3 separate regions of the Homo sapiens genome follow, and all the other regions are linked to region 1. Evidence: promoter capture Hi-C in 16 types of primary human blood cells and fetal thymus (Javierre and others, 2016). All regions are on one chromosome and are shown on one strand. The core of a region is centred on a gene start or on the middle of the fragment in contact, and the rest is flanking DNA. Distances in the headings are between cores, read along the strand shown. Region 1 holds the start of CTTNBP2NL (CTTNBP2 N-terminal like). Region 2 overlaps ST7L (suppression of tumorigenicity 7 like). Region 3 overlaps ST7L (suppression of tumorigenicity 7 like).

Region 1 (4,544 bases), core at 1,148-3,647:
TAAAGGAAGTAGGTCACAGAGCACTGCTCCCACCCAGTCAGCCAGGGAAAAGAATGGGTGGTGGTGGGTTAACAGCTACAAAGGGAATGAGGGAAAGAAAGGAGGACCTGCCGGGCATGGTGGTTTACGCCTGTCATCCCAGCCACTTTGGGAGGCCAGCAGGTGGATCACCTGAGGTCAGGAGTTTGAGACCAGCCTGGCCAACATGGCAAAACCCCATCTCTACTAAAAATATAAAAATTAGCTGGGCACAGTGACAGGCGCCTATAATCCCAGCTACTCGGAAAGCTGAGGCAGGAGAATCGCTTGAACCCAGAAGGCGGAGGTTGTAGTGAGAGATTGCGCCATTGCACTCCAGTCTGGGAGACAGAGCGAGACTCCATCTCGATAAAAAAAAAAAAAAAAAAGAAAAGAAAAACAAGGGAGGAGCTGATTCACTAGAACAACTCTTAGAGTGACTCAGAAGCCAGCAGAAAATAGCTTGTTCTCCCACATCTGCTTCATTGTCAGGCGATGAGGCACTTCCTCATTGCATACACATAGGCAGAGCGAAAGGGAGGAGGAGGAAATGGGATTTTTCAAGTTCCTTTGCCTGCTCCAGCACCTAACACTCTGTATTTGTAATCATTTCAGACATTTTGTTTCAAGTCAATATTTATTGAGTACCTACTCTGTGCCTGGCCCCTCATTTTAGCTTTCAGATTGTCAGTTTTCAGAACACAAGGCATAATGCCTTTCTGAAGTTCAGTATACCCTGCATCATTACTCCAGATTCACTTACACTGCTATCGAGCACCTTCACTCATAGTCTTGCTATCCTTCATATACAGAGATGACCCTCCCAAGCCTAAAATCAACAGGGGGAGGCATAGAGCTGTCCTTCTGGCTCTAATGTTTGCTTTACCATCATCCACGCCCATTCTTAGTCCAGCATGTGAGAGCCAGTGTGAAGTGAGCAGAATATGGCATAAGTATGGAGTCATACATCCTTACTGGAAATTCTTTACCATTTACTAGCTCTATGACTTTATTTGACTTCTCTGAATCTCTATCTTCTCATCTGTAAATTGGACACAATGATGTCTATCCTACACTGTAGGATAGATTTCTCATACAGCACTGAAAATGACATCAAATACCATTAAATGAAAGTACATGGCACAGTGATAACATGATAAATACTTGTTTACTTCTTTCAGACTATAATCGCACAAACTGATCACATCCCTCAGTCAGACTGTAAACTGCATGAGGCAGGCTGCATCTGCCTTGGGGACTGTCTGCCTAGGCAAGCACTAGGTCCCTAATGCTGTCTTGCGAATTATAATTGCTAAGTTTAGGGATAATGTATTAAGTGTACTACATTATTTATGCATTATGAATATTCGTCTCAAATATTTATTATATTGTATTTTAAATAATGTGGTTATTGTAAATGTAACCAGCTGCATCAATCTGTGAGCTGACAGCCATTCTGTGGAAAAGGAATTCAGAAACTTTGACCTTAGGTAGGGATACAACTAGTTATACATCCACTCCCCTCTCTGAGTTATTTGGTCCTGCCTAAGACTTGCTGCCACCAAGATCTGCATTCCTGTGTTCACAAGGCAGACATTCCTTGCATCCTCTGTACTCTCCATTGTTTCAACTTCACTGCAAACACCATTCCCCACAATATAATGAGGCCAAGGAAAGAAAAAAGTCGCCTCAGCTGGCAAGCATAGGGTGGAAAAACCTGCCACACAAATTTGCAATTATTTGACTTCCGCCTGGAAGGCAGGTCGGCTGGGTTTATGTCCCCCAAAGTTAGTATCCTCTTCTGTACAAAATGTGGTTGAGAGAAGGGTGATCTCCAGGTGTTTCATCTTTGCACCCTTGCTTCCAGCACCACGCCCACAGGCGCTTCCAGAAAAAAGAAAAAAAAAAAGGGAGCAAGGAAGCCAGGTTTTTCAACAACGAATTCATTCTAATGCAGACACCAAAGCCCACTTCATTTATTAACATTCTGGATAAAATCCCAATCGATTAGGCCACCAGAGCCCTCCATTCCTAAACTCCGCGTACAGTCAGGTAAAAGCACGAAGCACTAGTCACGGTCCTGCCCAGACTTTTCACGCAGAGGTGGAAAGTTGCAGACCCCGAGCCGGGAGGGGCGCGAGCCCACCCTGAAGCCCAGGACCCAGGAGGGCGCTTCCTCCCGGAAGTGACGCGAGCTCAATCCCGGCCTTGCTCTTCCCAAACAAAAGGGATCTTGGGGCCCCGGGAGGAGCCTGAATGACTTTGGAGAAGCCCCGCCTCCAGCCGGCGCGGATTGGGGCCGAGGCTGGAGAAGCAAGGAGGCGATTGGCGCTGGTGAATGCCAATGCCCCCGCCGGGCGGCTGAGGGGGCGGAGCCTCAGCCGCTGTGGATGGGGAGTGGAGGCGGAGGGGAGCGGAGCCCGGAGCGTCGTGGAAAGGTAGGAGCAACTATCCCTGGGGCTTGGTGATGGCTGGGAGGCCGGGTTCTCAAGAGCAAAGCAAGGATAGGGGCACCGGTAGCCTCCCGCCGCCGTCTCAACGGCCTCTGGGCCCATCCCCTGAGGGGGCGGGGCCGTCTCCTCCACCTCCCGGTATTCCCCGAGGAGGCGGCTCCTCATCCTCCGAGGGTCCTCACAGCTACTTTTTGTCCCTCGTCGATTCCCAGCTCCTCAGAAGGGGCTTCCCTCTGACACCCCTCATTCAAAGGCACCTCCCACCCCGCACCTCAGCCTTGGCGGAGAGGACTCACAGGTACCGATTCTCTAGGCTGCCGCCCCCAACCCCATTTCGTACCCCCGGAAGGCCAAACATCCCTCCCTACACCTGTCCCTGCTCGCCAGGGTGGGACTGGAGCTGCTTTCCTCCGTAAGATAAAATTGGTGTTTCCCAAAAAGGAGGGATGGGGCGAAGCAAAAATCAAAGACCGACCTAGACAGCCAGCTTTACGGAGGAAGCGGCTTCTCCCACTTAAGTTCTTCCCATCCCCCATTCTCTGATGCTCAGTCTTCCTCCCGCAGCCCCTCGCATCCTCTGGCCTCTTGTGAGGAGTCGAGAGCTCTCCTGTTTTGGGACTGTTTTGGACTGTGAAAGAGGGAGAACTAGGACCTCCTCTCCTTCACCCTTTGTACCTTCCTTCTACTTTCTGTTCCTTCTGGGAGCACCCAGCCTCTAAGGGTTTCTTAGGTTTGAATTGCGTTTCATTTTTCCTTTTCCACCCTATTTCCTCCCTGAGAACTTGATGAAAAGCCATCTTATATTTCACAGTGAGGTGGGTGTGTTGGATATCTGCAGAGCTGGCTTTGTGTGGGCAGGAATGCAGTATATGTTGCTTGACAGTCAATGAATAACACCATGTTTTCAAATGAAACAGTATACATAAGTAAATAAGTAGCAGTGGATTAGGAATGAGTATATCCCAGTCTAGGGTGGGCTGGTCCATTGCTCAGGGAGACTGCAGTTAACCTTGAAGGTATACTGCAGGTTGAAACAAAAGACAGGAAGTGTTTGAAGAAAATTCAGGGTCAGTCATCTAGGTTTATGATTAATCTAGTCCTATGTCCTTTGGTAACTCTCTAACCCCTTTTTTATAGTGTCCTCCCCGCCCCCAGGAAACATTCATGTATATTTTGATTGGTTTTACGATCATCTATCAAAATTTAGAGGATGAAAAGTAAGAACAATTTTTAAATCTCAGAGATAAGAGTAAATAAAGGCAAGGTATTCTAGCTATTCATGTTTACCAAAAAGTGCCTCTTCTAGTGTGCTCCTAAAGGTTTTGTCAAGTGGTCTTCATTTCAGCAGGTGCAAAGTGTTGATTTTGACCTCATGTTAATGTCGTTGAATCCCCAGTAATCATCTATTGCTAGCGCTTTTATATATTAAAATTTACCATGTTTTTAGCATAGTTTCTTTTGCTTCCAATCTCAAGTCTACCTCCCCTCTGTCAGCTATAGCCAAAGCTGATGGCAATAAAATGCAAGGAGTTGGAATCACGGAGGGTGATTGTAATGACTGTTGTCTTTTACCTTCTTGATTAGACTTTCTGAAGGTAGACTTCCTAAAGATAATTACTTTTGAATAGTTAGGTTTGAAGTTTTCAGAGCCACTCGGTGCTCACAGGTCTTCTCAGTGATTGTTTCCAAATCTCCAGTAAGAAAGTACAAAGAAGAAACTGGAGGGTGTCTCTAGCAAACGCAATGTGTGCTGCAATAGAAGGGTAAGACGTGAGCTCCCAGCAATAACAGCAGAAAAAACTAAAAGCAGAACAGAAAATCCCAAAAAGATAAGTTGTATTATATCAACAGAGAACAGAAAATAAACTAAGGTAAGAGACTAAGCAAACCAAAGTTGTGATTGCCGAGGTTTAATAGGAAAAAGCAAATAATATTCTTTTATTATTTAGCACAGTAAGCAAGATCTGTTTGTTACACTTTTGGGTCTTGAAAATCTTTCCTTTAACCTTTTCAACACCTGTTTGGTCATGCTAGGTGAAGAAAAGCATAGTATGCAGAGGATAGATGTCTGAT
Region 2 (4,544 bases), core at 714-3,213, 200 kb after region 1:
GTCACTCAACCCTTAAAGTTAACATACAGTACTGATACTGTGCTGCTGTTATTTCCCCAACACCTATCCTTTTGCCATTAATATAAACATTAAGCATATAAACATAAATCTATTTTTTTTACTCCTTTATTGCAATTAAACCATTTTATGTAATCATACCAAAGATTCATGGGTTTCCTATCATCCACTCTTAACCTATTTAATCTAGCAAAGATAAATCACTATGAACTCATTTTAATGCAGGAAACTGGCTATTTTTCAGACCCTTCAGTGATTTTGTGGTGGGTAGAAGCAGTAATAGTGTAGTGGTTAACAGCCAGTCTTGAGTTTGAAACATGGTTTTATCAATATTAGCTGTGTGACTCAAGGCATATTACTTGATCCCCCTTTGCTTCGGTTTCTTTATTGTTAAAATGGGGCTGATAATACCACCTATCTCATCAAGTGACTGGGAAGATTAAATTTCTATAAATTGCTCAGAACAGTGCCTGGCACATAGTAAGCCTAGGCAAGTATTAGCTATTATTAGTGAAATTGCTTAGACATCTGTGACATCTAGGCCATTCATTCATTCATACTTTTTTTTTTTTGAGATGCAGTCTCACTCTGTCGCCTAGGCTAGAGTGCAATGGCCCAATCTCAGCTCACGGCAAACTCCACCTCCGGGATTCAAGTGATTCTCCCACCTCAGCCTCCCGAGTAGCTGGGATTACAGGCACCCACCATCATGCCCAGCTAATTTTTATATTTTTGTAGAGACGGGGTTTTACCATGTTGACCAGGCTGGTCTCGAACTCCTGACCTCTGGTGATCCATCCACCTCGGCCTCCCAAAGTGCTGGGATTACAGGCGTGAGCCACCGCGCCCAGCCCATTCATACTTTCCTCAAAGAATAAATATTAATATTTACATTATGCCAGGCAATGTGCTGGATAATAGAGATTCAAAGATGAAGAGAATATAGTCCCTGCTGTCCAAAAGTTTATACCCTAGTAGCAAAGACAAACATGAAAGCAATATAATAACATTAACAAATAAATGTTTGTGGCTGAATAAATTAACTAAAGTTACTTCATAGAGGTTTAGACAAAGTAGTATAGAACTGCAGAAAACAAAATGTTTAATTCTATGACAAGGAATCCCAGAGAGGGCTTTCTAGAAAATGTGACTTTCAATTTGGATAATGAAGGATAAAAAGTAACTCATCAGATAGATAAGGAGGGTGAGTGCATTCAAAGTAGAAGAAAAATTGTGATAAAGATCCCAGACCAGGGCACAGTGGCTCATGCCTATAATCCTAATGCTTTGTAATGAGTTTGAGGTTACTTGGAGCTATGATTGCACCACTGCACTCCAGCCTGGACAACAGAGTGAAATCAATCAATCAATCAGCCCTGTCTTTAAACCATAAAATTAAGAGTCTCAATACTCTCTTCTATAGATAAGCACTTAGAGAAAACTAAACACAGAAATTTCTATGATCTTCTACCACTTTATATGTATCTCTAACTCACGACTAAAACAAAATAGACTCCAGTTTTCTGTACATGCCATTCTCCAATGTTTATACATTGACCTGTTCTTCTATTTTATGTATAATTGCAGGTGTTCATTTCCCAGACAGAAATGGGGTACACTGTTTTCTGGAAAAGTAGTTGCTATATTTGATCTGAAAGGTTTTTGAAGTAGTAAAAGAAATATGAAATATTTTAAATTCTTTATAAGGAAAAGCAGTGTATCAACCTAGCTTATAGTCATAATTTAATCTGAGTTTGTTATCAATAATATAAACAACTCCAAGCCAAATAACTAAATAACTCTGTATATTATAATAAATAACTCTAAAGAACTTTTAAGATGATCTTCATGATCACTGTTTATACTATGAACAGATATGATACATACCTGTGTCTGAAGGACGTAAAAAATCTGTGTCACAGGTGAAAAAGGTCTGATGGTCCTGAGCTGACAGGTTCATGTCATAGTATGTAAGTGGCTCTTTACCAGTCACCCAAGTGTATCTTTACCAAAACACAACAAAATATTTAAATTGAACATGAGAGAGCATCTATCTGCTATAACAGACACTACTTAAATTCAAAAATGTACTGCTACACATTTGGATGTTTTAAAATCTTACAATCAGTAAAACAAAAGATAACCTCACAAACTACTTAAAGTATGATAATAAAACATCAAAGACCAAATAGAAAAATAATATTCAATAAACAACTGCTTCTGAAAATTGAATTGGGCCGGGTGCCGTGGCTCATGCCTGTAATCTCAGCACTTTGGGAGGCTGAGGCTGGTGAATGACTTGAGACCTGCAGTTTGAGACCAGCCTGGGCAACATAGTGAGCCAGTGAGCCCTGTCTTTACCAGAAAAAAAAAAAAAAAAATTCAGCCAGGTGCAGTGGCTTGCACCCGTAATCCCAGCTACTGGGGAGGCTGAAGCTGAAGGATCACTTGAGCCCAAGAGCTCAAGACTAGCTTGAGCAATATAGCGAGATCTTATCTCTATTTTTTAACTAAAAAAAAAAAAGACTCAGTAAAACGAAAATTAAGGATTGGGAATTGAGACACAAAATGAAGCCTGGAATGGAGCTAACATATGAAATGTATACCCAAAAGTTATACTTTAACATTAAGAGAAAATAATCATTCAAAAGAAGCATAAGGATTCCTGATACTAATAAATTTATCCTAGGCCAGGCACAGTGGCTCACGCACGCCTTAATCCTTGGCACTTTGGGAGGCTGAGGCAGGAGGATCACTTGGGGTTTGAGGAGTTTGAGACCAGCCTGGCCAATATAGTAAAACCCTGTCTCTCCTAAAAATACAAAAATTAGCCGCATGTGGTAGCGGCCGCCTGTGATCCCAGCTACTTGGGAGGCTGAGGCAGAAGAATCACTTGAACCCAGGAGGAGGAGATTGCAGTGAACCAAGATCATACAACTGCACTCCAGCCTGGATGACAGAGAGAGACTCAGCCTCAAAAAAAAAAAAAAATATATATATATATATATATATATATATATATATATATGTGGATGTGTGTGTATACACACACACACACACACACACACACACACACACTTCTTTTCAAGATCTTCAGGAAATGGATACTGCATAATACAACAAATAGCCTCAAACTTTGATTAAACACAGTAAGAGATACAAGGACCTGTTTCTTACAGGTATCCCTTAACACAGGCTAATGGCATCTTTCATAAAAGCCTGGCTTTCACTTCACAGAATGTCACTATCTTACACTATCATGTCTTTAAGCATAGGAGTTATTGCTTAGTCATTTTTGTATCTCCATCATTTTGCACAGTGCCTGTACATGGTACAAACATAATGTTTCTTATTCAATAAGTTAAATAACATGCCCCATTCTACTTCTGGGTAAAACGCAGCACTCCTCAAAATAAAAGTAAAGTATCTTTGCTCATAAGTTTCAAAAGATGTTTTCTCATTTAGAGTTAAAAACCAGAAGAGAAATGGACACAGTAGTGAAAATAGGAAGCGGCAATATGAAGTCAATATATAGTCCCTCTACTGTTGCACAATTTACATTCAGAGTGATATTTTCTAATGCATCCTCAAATTTTGAAATTTAGCACTCATGCACAGGAATATGCTGACACTGGTAATTTTTTCTTAATGTCACAAATTCTTTGAAAAAGGCTTTTTATAAACCAGGGGCCTAATACATACTTAAATGTATACAATGTATACTTATACGTATCACAAATACTTATATGTATTATAAACCAGGGGCCTAATATATACTTATACGTATCACAAACATATAGTTTGATGTAATGTTTCTTATGATTATCAAATTAAACACAGGCTATGTGTGGTGGCTCATGCTTGTAATTCCAGTGATTTGGAAGGCCAAGGCAGGAGTATTACTTGGGCCCAGAAGTTTGGGACCAACCTTGGCAACATAGCAAGACCCCTGTCTACCAAAAATTTTTTTTTTTGAGATGGAGTTTTGCTCTTGTCGCCTGGGCTGGAGTGCAATGGCGTCATCTCAGCTCACTGCAACCGTTGCCTCCTGGGTTCAAGTGATTCTCCTGCCTCAGCCTCCCAAGTAGCTGGGATTACAGGTGTCTTCCTCCACGTCCAGCTAATTTTTGTTTTAGTAGAGACGGGGTTTCACCATGTTGGCCAGGCTGGTCTTGAACTCCTGACTTCAAGTGATCCGCCCACCTTGGCCTCCCAAAGTGCTGGGATTACAGGCATGAGCCACTGCACCTGGCCTCTACCAAAAATTTAAAAAAATTAGCTGGATGTGGTCTCTGCCTATGGAGTAGCGATTCTTTTATTCCTTTCCTTTCTTAATAAACTGGCTTTCACTTAAAAAAAAAAATTAGCTGGATGTGGTGGCATGTGCCTATAGTCCCAGCTACTTGGGAGGCTGAGGCAGGAGAATTCCTTGAGCCCAGGAGCTCAAGGCTGCAGCTAGCTATGATCGTGCTACTGCACTCCAGCCTGAGTGACAGGGCAAGACTCTATCTCTAAAAAATTTTAAT
Region 3 (4,544 bases), core at 1,205-3,704, 150 kb after region 1:
TGCAAAGATGTACAAGAAAGATGCATTTTTAAAAAGGCTTGGAGACTTAAAGGCAATTATCTTTGCTAATTTTACTTTGAGCCAGTGACATTAATAAGTTCATATAGAAAAGTAAATAGTTGCTGGGCATGGCGGCTCATGCCTGTAATCCCAGCACTTTGGGAGGCTGAGGCGGGCAGATCACTTGAGCCCAGGAGTTCAAGACCAGCCTGGGCAACATGGCAAAACCCTGCCTCTACAAAAAATACAAACATTAGCTGGGCATGGTGGCATGTGCCTATAGTCCCAGCTACTCGGGGGGCTGAGGCGGGAGGACTGTTGAACCCAGGAGGCGGAGGCTGCAGTGAGCTGAGATCGTACCACTGCACTCCAGCCTGGGTCACAGCGAGACCTTGTCTCAGAAAAAAAAAAAAAAGTAAATAGTGATGGGATACCCACTCTAGTATCAGTCCTCAAGTGTTAACTGGTTCAGGAAATGGGGAAGTAGTTCAAAACTAAAGGGTAAAAATGAAAATATAGAACTACACATGGTTCTATATCCAAGTCTGGGGAAGTAAGAACAAGCAGACACAATAACTTGGAGAACCTTTGAGACATAGGCACATTCTGTACCTAGGGACAAATGTCCCATCTGTTCCCCCGCCTTATGTACTTATTATCCATCCTAGTTGTGCTCTTGAGTTTAAAGTTCAACAAATCCTGAGAACTAATGATTTCATTTAAATGAAAAAAATCAAAGGGTTTGTTTACAAAATAGGGTATTTTTAAAAATACCAAAGATAGTAACAAATGCTGTTTATCACCAAAAGTGATCTATAAGAGCAAACTTTATAATGTTATATTGTTACAATCTTATATTGTATTCTTTAAACTTTTAAGCAACAGAAGTAGCTCAAATCACCAAAAATTTATGTTTGATGTATTTATGGCAGCAACTATATACAAATCAATTCCTTTAATTTACAACAAATATCTTCCATTGTTCAGCTGGGTTAGCACAGGCAGATCAGAGATGGTTTCTTGTGTGTTTTACAAATAATCTACACAAGTCCTTGAGATCATACTTACAGCTTTAGCAAAAATACCCATGATTTCAGGAAACTGGTGAGTGAGAATGGCTATCATTGCTGTAGAAGAGCAAAATCCTGCTGTGAAATGGATGAACAAAGGAAGCTCCTTTTTTGGGTAAACAGAAACATGATGAAAGGCTGCAATGGAGAATAGGTAAGAATCAATTTTATTTCAGAATAACATGTAAACAAGTCTTAATCTTTTCAAATGAAATCTGTTTTTAAAAATTAAAAAGAAAAAAAATTTAAAAAGGAAAGTCTCTGGCTAAGCAAGGTAGAAGACAGTTATCCATTATTTATCCCAGCATCAACAGCATATCTAAATAGCCAGACAACTGTGCTGGGTGTGGGAACAGGATGGCGTCATGGGAAAGAATATTGATTACAAAATCATGCTGAGGTGATTTTGAAAAAAAGCTTTGTCACTTATTAGCTATGTGATCTTGAATAAGTTGCTAAACCCTCTAGAAGTTGCTATGGAGAGTTGTAATGATGAACATTTTAAGTGCTTAATGTGAGTTGCAGCCACAGGTGGTGGTTCACGTCTGTAATCCCAGCGCTTTGGGGGGCCAAAGAGGAGGATCGCTTAAAGCCAGGCATGCGACACTAACCTAAGCAAAATCGTGCTTAAAAATTTTTAAAAATTTTAAAAATTAGCCCAGCATGGTGGTGTGTGCCTGTAGGTCCAGCTACTCTGGAGGATGAGATGGGAAAATCACTGGAACCCAGGAGTTTGAGGCTGCAGTGAGCTATGATCATTCCACTGCACTCCAGCCTGGGTGACAGACCTGTCTCTAAATAAATAAATAAATAAATAAATAAATAAATAAATAAATACATTTGAGTTGCTACTTTTTTTTTTGAAGAAGAAGAGTCTCGCTCTGTTGCCTAGGCTGGAGTGCAGTGACATGATCTCGGCTCACTGCAACCTCTGCCACCCAGGTTCAAGTGACTCTTGTGCCTTAGCCTCCCAAGTAGCTGGGATTACATGCACAGGCCACTACGCCCAGCTACTTTTTTGTATTTTTAGTAGAGAGGGGTTTTGCCATGTTGGCCAGGCTGGTCTCAAACTCCTGGCCTAAAGTGATCCGTCCACCTCGGCCTCCCAAAGCGCTGGGATTACAGGTATAAGCCACCACACCTGGCATTGAGTTGTTATTAATTATTGTTCTTTGGGAGCTCAAAGACTAGTATGGAGAAAGAGGCAGACATGTCATTGGTGATTTCCTAGGACCATCAGTTAATAATTTTACCCAGTTATTAATGTGTTTATATATGTGGCATTTCATTAGGCACTGTAAAACTAAAGTAGGTAAGACGGGAGCAGTGGCTCACGCCTGTAATCCCAGCACCTTGGGAGGCTAAGTCGGGTGGATCACGAGGTCAGGAGATCGAGACCATCCTGGCCAACATGGTGAAACCCCGTCTCTACTAAAAATATAAAAATTAGGTGGGCGTGGTGACACGCGCCTATAGTCCCAGCTACTCAGGAAGGCTGAGCAGGAAAATCGCTTGAACCCGGGAGGCGGAGGGTGCAGTGAGCTGGGATTGTGCCACTGCACTCCAGCCTGGCAACAGAGCAAGACTCTGTCTCAAAAATAAATATGTAAATTAATTAATAAATAAAGTAGGTAGGCCAGGTGTGGTTGCTCATGTCTGTAATCCCAGCACTTTGGGAGGCCGAGGCAGGTGAATCATTTGAGTTCAGGGGTTTGAGATCAGCTTGGCCAACATAGTGAAACCCCATCTCTACTAAAAATAGAAAGATTAGCCAGGCATGGTGACGTGCACCTATAGTCACAGCTACTTGGGAGGCTGAGGCAGGAGGATCGCTAGAACCTGAGAGGCAGAGGTTGCAGTGAGCCAAGATCATGCCACTGCACTCTAGCCTGGGCAACAGAGTGAGACTCTATCTCAAAAAAAAAAAAAAAAAAAAAAACCTAAACTAGCAAACTGAAGGCCTAGGATTCTGACCATAAATAAAGTCCCTTGTCTTATTTTACCATATTTACATATTTACTCAGCTATTATTTTTCTAGTGATTGGATATTTCGTTATCAATTATACTCAAGTATTTATATTTTATTTGAAATTTGAAAATACTTGAATAACAATACTGAGATGAGCCTATTAGAGTACTTAACATGCAGTAGGTGCTCAATAAATGTCTGCTAAACTGAGAGCTATTCTGGGACTTCATTAGGCCAGGAAGTTGACCGCTTAGGGCTGGATACTAACCCAGGAATTTCTGATGTAATATCCTGCATTAGTAAGGGATGACTAATTTTGTGCTGAACCAAGGTCAGCTATAAATTTCACTTTTAAAACATAATGATTCACAGAGATTACACCTAAGCTTCCTTCAACAGCTATATTTTAATTTTTATTTTACTATATTCAGAAAGTATATACCAAAACACAAACCCATTAAAAATCCAGAAAATGTCCAGAACCTTGAGCCATGATTAAAGTAAAAGCACATCAAAATGGAAGTTTTAAAAGTTAGAAACATTAGAAACTGTAGAGAACATTGTGCTTTCAGCACCCAAAGAACCAGTCAGCAATCCCCTTTGCCCTGTCCCTCAGCCATGAGAGGCCAACTTCTTCTTCTTCCCAACTTCAAATCAAGAGAAACAAACCCTGCTATTCAAGAAGGTGGGAAACACATACAAGACAGCAAAGTTAGTAATATTACCTAACCTATATAGCATTTTATGGTTTATAAAGAACTTTAATTTATATTAGCTCATTTAATTCTTTTCAGTAACCCTAAGAGATAGTAGTATTCTCACTTTATAAGGTAGAAAACTGCATAGCTTTAGTGAGGAAATTTCCTAAAATATGAGATTTTTATACTGTAAGAGAGACCTAATTATTTCTTCCTGGATTGCTTTCTGTAGATTCATTTGTCAGTCAATGTTTGGCTAATACATCAAAATAATGGATGACTATTACAGAAACACTCCCTTGGAACGAAAGTTCAAATTTCATCACTGGCTTGTAGAGAAAAATTTATCAGAAGGCATAAAAGACGACTAAATAGCTATGTGAACTAGGGGAATAGTTCAACTCTGAACTTATGAGGTCCATAAGCAAATTCCAGAATGCGGTAAGTCATATCAAAGTTGAAGGAAAATTAAAAACAAAAAACATTAAGTACTCCTGGGTATTAAAACTCCTTATTGTTAACAATTTGTTCATTCTTCCACAGTCAGAGACAGAAAAAAATACTCTAAGAACATAAAATATAATCAAACAAAACCCCCCAGCATATTCCCCCTCTCCTACCTTCTGGAGTTTGCACCAAGTTAGAATAAAGGCTTGCCAAGAATAAACTGTCTGGTCTTATAGCTTACAGCTTTGACAACATAATAACCCTGATTTTATTCATATTACTATGTAAAATTGGCCTTATATTAGACAACCTTTGCAATAATTTACAAAGGAGGGCATTATTTTAGGCTAAATGTATTA

The links. The method cuts DNA at HindIII sites, captures the fragments that hold promoters and counts their contacts. A CHiCAGO score of 5 or more calls a contact.
Region 2: a fragment that was not itself captured here is called in contact with the fragment with the promoter of CTTNBP2NL in region 1 in 1 of 17 cell types (M2 macrophages); the score reaches 5.3 in M2 macrophages.
Region 3: a contact is called between a fragment that was not itself captured here and the fragment with the promoter of CTTNBP2NL in region 1, in 1 of 17 cell types (endothelial precursors). The highest score is 5.3, in endothelial precursors.

The regions. Positions count from the first base shown.
Region 1 is chr1:112,393,817-112,398,360 of GRCh38, forward strand. CTTNBP2NL (CTTNBP2 N-terminal like) reads left to right here and starts at 2,398. Exons shown (of 6, transcript NM_018704.3): 1 at 2,398-2,456. RefSeq lists a silencer at 2,596-2,645. The HindIII fragment of the contact is 10,453 bases long and covers 1-4,544 here.
Region 2 is chr1:112,596,066-112,600,609 of GRCh38, forward strand. It overlaps ST7L (suppression of tumorigenicity 7 like), which reads right to left. Exons shown (of 15, transcript NM_017744.5): 5 at 1,906-2,021. Among named protein-coding and RNA genes, the nearest start is that of ST7L, 21 kb to the right of the region's middle. The HindIII fragment of the contact is 7,279 bases long and covers 1-4,544 here.
Region 3 is chr1:112,540,883-112,545,426 of GRCh38, forward strand. It overlaps ST7L (suppression of tumorigenicity 7 like), which reads right to left. Exons shown (of 15, transcript NM_017744.5): 14 at 1,069-1,208. Among named protein-coding and RNA genes, the nearest start is that of WNT2B, 34 kb to the left of the region's middle. The HindIII fragment of the contact is 1,939 bases long and covers 1,486-3,424 here.